2 separate regions of the Homo sapiens genome follow, and region 2 is linked to region 1. The links are contacts of gene promoters, found by promoter capture Hi-C in human tissues and cell types (Jung and others, 2019). All regions are on one chromosome and are shown on one strand. The core of a region is centred on a gene start or on the middle of the fragment in contact, and the rest is flanking DNA. Distances in the headings are between cores, read along the strand shown. Region 1 holds the start of HSD3B2 (hydroxy-delta-5-steroid dehydrogenase, 3 beta- and steroid delta-isomerase 2). Region 2 has its middle 4.2 kb from the start of HSD3B1.

Region 1 (5,041 bases), core at 763-3,262:
CAGAACTCTCAACAGCTGAAGGAACATTTGGTCCCACCCTGAAGGTCATGGGGGTCTGTAAGGTGCACTCCAGCATCTGATATGGCAGGCAAAGGTGTGTGATGCACCTGGGTGGTTTCAGATAGTGCTCCACAAGTCCCAGGGCCCGTGTCTAGTTCTGAGAGCTTCAGAAGACAAGCTGCTACACCTTGCATCACAGGACCAACCTTTCCTAGGCAAGTGGGTTTGAAGCATTGGCAGCCAGGTTCCAAGTAGAAGGTGAATGTCTACACACAGGAGAAAGGCAAGACCCAGAATGGGGAGTCAAGCTAAATCATTTGTAGAGTATGACTTCCAACAACTTCAGAAAGCATTCTTTTGAAGTGCTTATGGCATTTCCACCAACATAGACCATAGGCTGGACCATAAAACAAATCTCAATATATATCAAAGAATCAAAATCATACAGAGTATATGCTCTGGCCACAATAATATTTAATTAGAAATACATAACAATAAGAAAATCCCCAGTTTTAGAAAACATGCAACATGCTTCTCAATAACACTTGGGTCAAAGAAGACATCACAAGAAAAAATTCAAAACGTCAGTAACTGAATAATGATAACCCAATGCATCAAAATGTTGGATACAGCTAACATAGTGTTTAGAGAGAAATTTACAACTTTAAATGCCTATGGTGGAAATGAGCAAAGAAGTAAAGTCAATTATCTATGCTTTTATCATAAGAACCCTGAAAAAGAAGAGTAAAATAAACCCAAAGTTAATAAACATTTAAGCCAATAATAAAAATAATGAAAATCATGAAATAGAAAAATGAACAAACAATAGAGACAATCAGTGGTCAATTTTTCTGTACTCCATGAACAAAACTTCAGTTCAGAATGATTTTATATTTAAATATATATCCAGAATCACAAAGATCTTAGAAGAAAAAATTAGGAAAATATAGGAATAAAGTGGGAACTCTGTGGGAATAAAAATCAGAAAGTAATTGCCTACCAGGTAAACTCGGGGGAGGGCAGGCAATTGACTAAGAACAGGCAGATAAAACTTTCTGGAGTGAAGGAAATGGTGGTCTTCTTTTCGTTGGTACTTACATGGACATATATAACTGTCAAGGTTCATTGACAATGAACACTTAAGTGTACACTGAACGCTTAAGATCTGGGCCTTGTAATGCCCAGATTACATCTACTTAAAAAAACTACATCTCTATTTTTTTAAGTAGAGAAAAGTGTCTTGGGGAGTTTATGGCAGTGATGTTTGGGCAGACTGGGGCATAGGTTTCAGAAGCATTCATAGCATCTTCAGTTCAACAATTTGCTAAGAATGGTTTTGCAGCCAAAAATGTAAGATGAGTGCAAATATCTATGATTAGAGTCATTGGGCATACAACTACAAATCCCCACACTTGTATTACAGGCCATATGATTAATTCGTTATCACTAGATACCTTTCCTTCAATGAGGTTCTTCCATTAGGAACCCAGAGCTCTCCAGGGAAAAATTGCAATTGAGGTTTTGGATATATTGGGTGGAAAAGAAAGTCACCTCACATAAAACTTAGTGATTGGAGCTGTCACCATTGAAAATTTCTAAACTTTGCAAGACAGCAGTGACGTTTCAAATGACACTCTCAGAGAGTTGATAATGGGCTAAAATAGATCTCCCTCCAGGTGGATTTACTGTACAAGGACAACATTTACATTGCACTTGGAGACTTCTCCCAGTTTGGTTTAAGTTCACAGATTGCAGATCCCAGACAGCTGGTATCAACTGACCAGTGTTCTGTTAAGGCTAAAGCCAAGACTCTTTATCACACTGTGGCCTTAAGATTGGATTTCTCTTCCTGTTCCTGGGAAGAATTAGAGATATAACCTAAAGGTCACTATTATTCTGAGAAAAGGGATTCTGGAGGAGGAGGGAGCAATGAGTATGTGGCAGGAGTTCAAGGTAATAAGGGCTGAGACACAAGCCACAGAGCATAAAGCTCCAGTCCTTCCTCCAGGGATGAGGCAGTAAGGACTTGGACTCCTCTGTCCAGCTTTTAACAATCTAAGTTACGGTTAGAGCTTTCTCCTTTTCTTTCAACTACTCCTGGCAGTTGTGGGGTCATGGAATTTTTGTAAAAAATGGGGTGGAGGAAAATAAGGCATCTGCTGAGTGTATAACCATTTTACCTCTTGTTTTTAGCCCTCTTCTGGGTCACGCTAGAATCAGATCTGCTCTCCAGCATCTTCTGTTTCCTGGCAAGTGTTTCCTGCTACTTTGGATTGGCCACGATGGGCTGGAGCTGCCTTGTGACAGGAGCAGGAGGGCTTCTGGGTCAGAGGATCGTCCGCCTGTTGGTGGAAGAGAAGGAACTGAAGGAGATCAGGGCCTTGGACAAGGCCTTCAGACCAGAATTGAGAGAGGAATTTTCTAGTAAGTAAACTTGAGTCATGGGTCTGTGGCTCCATCTTAAACTCTGCATGGGTGTGGGGAGGTTGACCTTGTCTAGCAAGTTAAGGAAAGTTGTAGCCAAATGAAAGCCAGTCACACATCTAAAGTCATCAGAAAGGAAATAGAATAAAATGGTATAGTGTGAAAGATACTGGATGGGGTGTCCAGAGACTGGATTCTGGCCCTGACGCAGAACTTGAGAGGCAGCCATGTCAGCCTCAAGGCCCCTTTTCTTCTCTTCTAGAGAGTCACACATGAGTTCTCCTTCTTGTCTACAACTCTTATGTTCTGAAGCTTTTTGTCTTGGCGATTGCTGTGCGACATTCACAAAGGACATCATTTACCTGGAGACCTCACCAGTGGGTCCTGCCTGTCTAGACTGCCCCAGGCTTCATTTCATTTTATAGCTTCCTTAGTATCTTTAGTGAGGGCAAAATAAAAGGAAGTGAAGGTACGGATGTGTGTGTAATTGTGTGTGTGTGTCAGACAGAGAAAGAAAATGAGGGGGAAAGAAGGTCAGAGACAGAGAATGAGAAAGACAGAGAATGAATGAGAAAGATAGTGTGAGGGAGAGCATCAGCAAGAGAGAGAGAGTGAAAGTGAGAGAGATCATCAGTGAGAGAGAGAGAAAGAGAGAAAGAGAGCATGCACAAGTGCACGGCACAGAGCAGAGACAGAGTAAAAGGCAGTATGAGGCCAACATGCCTCATTTATATTTCTCATATATAGCCTTTTTAAAAAAAAACCATTTGTATCTGTTGTTCAATACTCCAAATAAATTGACTGCAGAATTTGCTGTAGTAACTCTTTGTGCAAATAACCCTGTGAGGAAGGTAGAAAAGGGGTCACCTCCAACTGGACAATGAACCCATCAAGTTCCAGAAACATAAAGTTACTTGCCAAGAACAGCTGATTAATGTGTAGCAGAGCTCAGACCAGAGCTTCATTCCAGAAGCTTCATCACTTGACCCCCGGGCTAATCCTTGGTGGGTCTTCAGTCTCTCCCTTTGCCTCTCTGTGTGCCCCAAACCAATTCCATGTTTTCCTCCCAACCCAGGGGACTGGGGGAACTATGTATCTTCTTCATGCAGGTTCTGGCTGCCTAGAAGGTCCTGCCCTGTTCACACAGAAGCTCCCCTTGACACTCTCCTCTTCTTTCACTCTTCTCTGACCTCTTTAAATGTCCAATTTCCTCCACTCTCTGTTCTAATAGTGAACAGATATTAACACATGACTGATATTAAATGTTTGTAATCCTTATGTCTCAGCAATATTTACAATCTAACATCTGATACCAGGAAAAAGCAATGCTCAGTCTAGAGGAAGAGTTCTGCTATGGTGAAAATGCAGGGAGCATAATGGATGGGCAGGGCCTGTATGAAGATAAAAACAGAGAATCCTTTCAGTGTTCTTTCTGTGCCAGGCACTGTGCTAAAGGTTTTGCATGTGCTGACTCATTTACTTCCCATAACAACCCTATGAGATGGGTAATACTATTATCCTCCTTTTTTATAGATGAGGAGACAGACACAGAGAGGTTAATCAACTTGTCGAAGGTCCCAAGTTAGATTACGGCAAAGCTGGATTTGAATCCAGGCAGTCTAGTGCAGCTTCTGTGCTCTTAAGTAGTAGTTTGTCTAGCAGCTTCTCTGAGCCTCCCTCCAGCCCAACACACAACACAAAAGCAACTGAATTTAGTCTACATGAAACACTTGCCAAGTCCACAGTGCCTTGGAGAAGGAGGGAGCTAAGACTCCATCAAAAATTGCGCTTTTCTGGTCTCTCTAGATCCATGGAAACTCACCGGGGAAGAGTCATTTTCTATCGGCTTTGGACTTCTGCTATGAAATGGCAATTCCTTTGAGCCAGTCTGTCTAAAGTCGGCAGCAAAGGAGAAGCAGATGAAGGGAGTAGAAAAGGTAGAGGTGGAAATACAACCAGAGAAAATTCCACTCTCGGGCTGACACCCACCTCCTCCCCAGCAGCCTCTTCCCTGCCTCCACCATTCCAGGGCCTTCTTGGAGTTGCCTGACAGTGGGAAGGGGCTGGGAGTAGACAAAACAAGGCAGAGGCATCAGAAGAGCAAATGGTCCCACCTGTATCCCAGGAAGGAATTTCTCCAGCCTTGAATTTTTCATTCTGAATTTCGCTCTCACTGTTCTTTGGCCTTTGTGGGCATTTTCAGTTAAACTGGCTTATTCTTACTCTTTCTCAGAAAAGTTGATTCTAAACAGCTATTCCTGCACCTGGGGTACAGGGTACAAAAATGGCAGGTGGAATGGGCAGGTTTGAGCCTTCACTAGAAAATTGACTTTAGATCTGTCCCTTAACCTCTCTGAGCCTCAGTTTCCTCACCAATAAAGTGGGACTCAGAATACCTACCTCACGAGATAGCTGTAAAAGGAAATAAGCAAGCTGTGAGCCGTATGCAGATTATAAAGCACAAATGAGTGTAGAGTATTTATCTGAGCTCCATGTAGCATGGTGTTCATTTTGTGGGCTAATTCCAGGTGACAACTTTACCGGCAGCGTCACTACCTGTGGATTTCAGAGGAGCCTGAAGATATGGATGTTACATCCGCTGCCCTTGGCTAGACAT
Region 2 (5,041 bases), core at 758-3,257, 87 kb after region 1:
CTCAGACCACAGTGCAATCAAACTAGAACTCAGGATTAAGAAACTCACTCAAAACCGCTCAACTACATGGAAACTGAACAATCTGCTCCTGAAGGACTACTAGGTACATAACAAAATGAAGGCAGAAATAAAGATGTTTTTTGAAACCAACGAGAACAAAGACACAACATATCAGAATCTCTGGGACACATTCAAAGCAGCGTGTAGAGGGAAATTTATAGCACTAAATGCCCACAAGAGAAAGCAGGAAAGATCCGAAATTGACACCCTAACATCACAATTAAAAGAACCAGAAAAGCAAGAGCAAACACATTCAAAAGCTAGCAGAAGGCAAGAAATAACTAAAATCAGAGCAGAACTGAAGGACATAGAGACATCAAAAAACCCTTCAAAAAATTAATGAATCCAGGAGCTGGTTTTTTGAAAAGATCAACAAAATTGATAGACCACTAGCAAGACTAATAAAGAAGAAAAGAGAGAAGAATCAAATAGACGCAATAAAAAATGATAAAGGGGATACCACCACCAATCCCACAGAAATACAAACTACCATCAGAGAATACTATAAACACCTCTACACAAATAAACTAGAAAATCTAGAAGAAATGGATAAATTCCTCAACACATACACCCTCCCAAGACTAAACCAGGAAGAAGTTGAATCTCTGAATAGACCAATAACAGGCTCTGAAATTGTGGCAATAATCAATAGTTTACCAACCAAAAGGAGTCCAGGACCAGATGGATTCACAGCCAAATTCTACCAGAGGTAGAAGGAGGAGCTGGTACCATTCCTTCTGAAACTATTCCAATCAATAGAAAAAGAGGGAATCCTCCCTAACTCATTTTATGAGGTCAGCATCATCCTGATACCAAAGCTGGGAAGAGACACAACCAAAAAAGAGAATTTTAGACCAATATCCTTGATGAACATTAATGCAAAAATCCTCAATAAAATACTGGCAAACCGAATCCAGCAGCACATAAAAAAGCTTACCCACCATGATCAAGTGGGCTTCATCCCTGAGATGCAAGGCTGGTTCAACATACGCTAAATCAATAAATGTAATCCAACGTATAAAAAGAACCAAAGACAAAAACCACATGATTATCTCAATAGATGCAGAAAAGGCCTTTGACAAAATTCAACAACTCTTCATGCTAAAAACTCTCAATAAATTAGGTATTGATGGGACGTATCTCAAAATAATAAGAGTTATCTATGACAAACCCACAGCCAATATCATACTGAATGGGCAAAAACTGGAAGCATTCCCTTTGAAAACTGGCACAGGACAGGGATGCCCTCTCTCACCACTCCTATTCAACATAGTGTTGGAAGTGCTGGCCAGGGCAATTAAGCAGGAGAAGGAAATAAAGGGTATTCAAATAGAAAAAGAGGAGGTCTAATTGTCCCTTTTTGCAGGTGACATGATTGTATATCTAGAAAACCCCATCGTCTCAGCCCAAAATCTCCTTAAGCTGATAAGCAACTTCAGCAAAGTCTCAGGATACAAAATCAATGTGCAAAAATCACAAGCATTCCTAAACACCAATAACAGACAAACAGAGAGCCAAATCATGAGTGAACTCCCATTCACAATTTCTTCAAAGAGAATAAAATACCTAGGAATCCAACTTACAAGGGATGTGAAGGACCTCCTCAAGGAGAACTACAAACCACTGCTCAATGAAATAAAAGAGGATACAAACAAATGGAATAACATTCCATGCTCATGGGTAGGAAGAATCAATGTCTTGAAAATGGCCATACTGCCCAAGGTAATTTATAGATTCAATGCCATCCCCATCAAGCTACCAATGACTTTTTTCACAGAATTGGAAAAAACTACTTTAAAGTTCATATGGAAACAAAAAAGAGCCTGCATCGCCAAGTCAATCCTAAGCCAAAAGAACACAGCCAGAGGCAACACGCTACCTGACTTCAAACTATACTAAAAGGCTACAGTAACCAAAACAGCATGGTACTGGTACCAAAACAGAGATATAGATCAATGGAACAGAACAGAGACCTCAGAAATAATGCCACATATCTACAACTATCTGATCTTTGACAAACCTGACAAAAACAAGAAATGGGGAAAGGATTCCCTATTTAATAAATGGTGCTGGGAAAACTGGCTAGCCATGTGTAGAAAGCTGAAACTGGATTCCTTCCTTACACCTTATATGAAAATTAATTCAAGATGGGTTAAAGACTTACATGTTAGACCTAAAACCATAAAAACCCTAGAAGAAAACTTAGGCAATACCATTCAGGACATAGGCATGGGCAAGGACTTCATGTCTAAAACACCAAAAGCAATGGCAACAAAAGCCAGAATTGACAAATGGGATCTACTGAAACTAAAGAGCTTCTGCACAGCAGGAGAAACTACCATCAGAGTGAACAGGCAACCTACAAAATGGGAGAAAATTTTCACAACCTCCTCATCTGACAAAGGGCTAATATCCAGAATCTACAATGAACCCAGACAAATTTACAAGAAAAAAACAAACAACCCCATAAAAAAGTGGGCAAAGGATATGAACAGACACTTCTCAAAAGAAGACATTTATGCAGCCAAAAAACACATGAAAAAATGCTCATCATCACTGGCCATCAGAGAAATGCAAATCAAAAGCACAATGAGACACCATCTCACACCAGTTAGAATGGCAATCATTAAAAAGTCAGGAAACAACAAGTGCTGGAGAGGATGTGGAGAAATAGGAACACTTTTACAATGTTGGTGGGACTGTAAACTAGTTCAACCATTGTGGAAGTCAGTGTGGTGATTTCTCAGGGATCTAGAACTGGAAATACCATTTGACCCAGCCATCCCATTACTGGGTATATACCCAAAGGATTATAAATCATGCTGCTATAAAGACACATGCACACGTATGTTTATTGTGGCACTATTCACAATAGCAAAGACTTGGAACCAACCCAAATGTCCAACAATGATAGACTGGATTAAGAAAATGTGGCACATATACGCCATGGAATACTATGCAGCCATAAAAAATGATGAGTTCATGTCCTTTGTAGGGACGTGGATGAAGCTGGAAACCATCATTCTCAGCAAACTATTGCAAGGACAAAAAACCAAACACCGCATGTTCTCACTCATAGGTGGGAATTGAACAATGAGAACACATGGACACAGGAAGGGGAACATCACACTCCGGGGACAGTTGTGGGGTGGGGGGAGGGGGGAGGGATAGCATTTGGAGATATACCTAATGCTAAATGCCGAATTAATGGGTGTAGCACATCAACATGTCACATGTACCTGCACATTGTGTACATGTACCCTAAAACTTAAAGTATAATAATAATAAAATAAATAAATAAATAAACAATTGAAAGAAGTGAAAAACAATGATGTGAAAAATTGAACTACTCTTGCAGTGTTGATGGGACATGCAGCCACATTGGAAAACAGATTGCCAGTTCCTTAAAATGTTAAATATACATTTACCTTATGATCTAGCACTTTCACTCCTAGCTGTCTACCCCAAAGAAACAGAAACCTATGTCCACACAACACATGAATGTGAATATTCATAGCAGCTTTATCCATAATAGTCCATAAAGTGGAAACACATCAAATATCGATCAATTGATGAATGAATAAACAAATGGGAGCCATCCATACAATTTAATAGGGTTTGGCACCTAAAAGGAGTAAAATATTGATACGTGCTACAACATAGATGAACCACAAAAGAACATTAAGCTGGCCAGGTGTGGTGACTCACACCTGTAATCCCAGCACTTTGGGAGGCCAAGGTGGGTGGATCATTTGGGGTCAAAAGTTTAGATCAGCCTGGCCAACATGATGAAATCCCGCCTCTACTAAAAATACAAAAATTACCCAGGCATGGTGGCAGGTGCCTGGAGGCTGAGGCAGGAGAATCACTTGAACCCGGAAGTGGAGGTTGAAGTGAGCCAACATCGCACCACTGCACTCCAGCCTGGGCAACAGAGCAAGACTCTGTCTCAAAAAAAAAAAAAAGTATATTAAGCTAAGTGAAAGAATAGAAATACAAAGACCAAATATTCTATGATTCCATTTATATAATGTCTAGAAAAGGCAAATCTGTAAAGTCAGTGAGTCAATTAAAGGTTGCCTTGAGCTGTGAGTAAGAGTAAGGAATGGTGACTGATGAGCACGAGGGATTTCTTAGGAATGATAGAAATGTTGGAAAACAGGATTACAGTGATGGTCCACACAAGTATAAAATTTTACTAAAAATAATTGAACTGTACACTTAAAACAAGCAAATGTGATGTCAATTATACCTCAGTAAACCTATTTAAAAATAAAAGAAAGTTGGTAGTATGGTTCCCAATCACTCTGGACCTTTGTTTTATTTCTCCCTTTCTTTAGGGCTTATATTTATTGCTTCCACTCAGAGACTCCAAGACACATGAGCTGAAATCTACGAGCCTCCAGAACGTTCAACAGCTGAAAGAAAGTCCAGCCCCACACTGAAGGCGATGGGGGATCTTTAAGGTGCTCTCCAGCACTGCTACAGCAGGCAAAGGCATGCGATGCACCTGGGTAGTTTCAGATAGTACTCCACAAGTCTCAGCAAGACCCAGGGCCTGTAAATAGTTCTGATAGTTTCAGAGAACAAGCTGCTACATCTTGTAGCACAAGGCCAACCTTTCCTAGGCAAGTGGTTTTGAAGCATTGGTAGTGAGGTCCAAAGTAGAAGATGAATGTCTACAACATGGAGGAGGGCAAGACCCAGAGTGGGGTGTCAAACTAAATCATTTGTAGAGTATTACTTTCAACAACTGCAGAAAGCATTCTTTTCAAGTGCTTATGGCATGTTCACCAATGTAGACCATATGCTGGACCATAAAACAAATCTCACTAAATATTCAAGAATCAAAATCATACAGTGCATATGCTCTGGCCACAGTAGTATTTAATTAGAAATCCATAACAATGAGATATCTAGAAAATCCTCACTTTTAGAAAACAAGCAACACACTTCTGAATAACACTTGGGTCAGAGAAGA

What was found. Contacts are between HindIII fragments. The study calls those that stand out against the background at their distance.
Region 2: a contact is called between a fragment that was not itself captured here and the fragment with the promoter of HSD3B2 in region 1, in 2 of the 25 tissues and cell types used here (neural progenitor cells and psoas muscle).

What each region holds. Positions count from the first base shown.
Region 1 is chr1:119,413,138-119,418,178 of GRCh38, forward strand. HSD3B2 (hydroxy-delta-5-steroid dehydrogenase, 3 beta- and steroid delta-isomerase 2) reads left to right here and starts at 2,013. Exons shown (of 4, transcript NM_000198.4): 1 at 2,013-2,065; 2 at 2,194-2,424. The coding sequence starts at 2,283. RefSeq lists promoters at 940-2,066, 1,490-2,207 and an enhancer at 1,780-2,979. The HindIII fragment of the contact is 6,350 bases long and covers 1-3,066 here.
Region 2 is chr1:119,500,451-119,505,491 of GRCh38, forward strand. No RefSeq gene overlaps it. Among named protein-coding and RNA genes, the nearest start is that of HSD3B1, 4.2 kb to the right of the region's middle. RefSeq lists a promoter at 3,879-5,041 and an enhancer at 4,171-4,242. The HindIII fragment of the contact is 8,718 bases long and covers 1-5,041 here.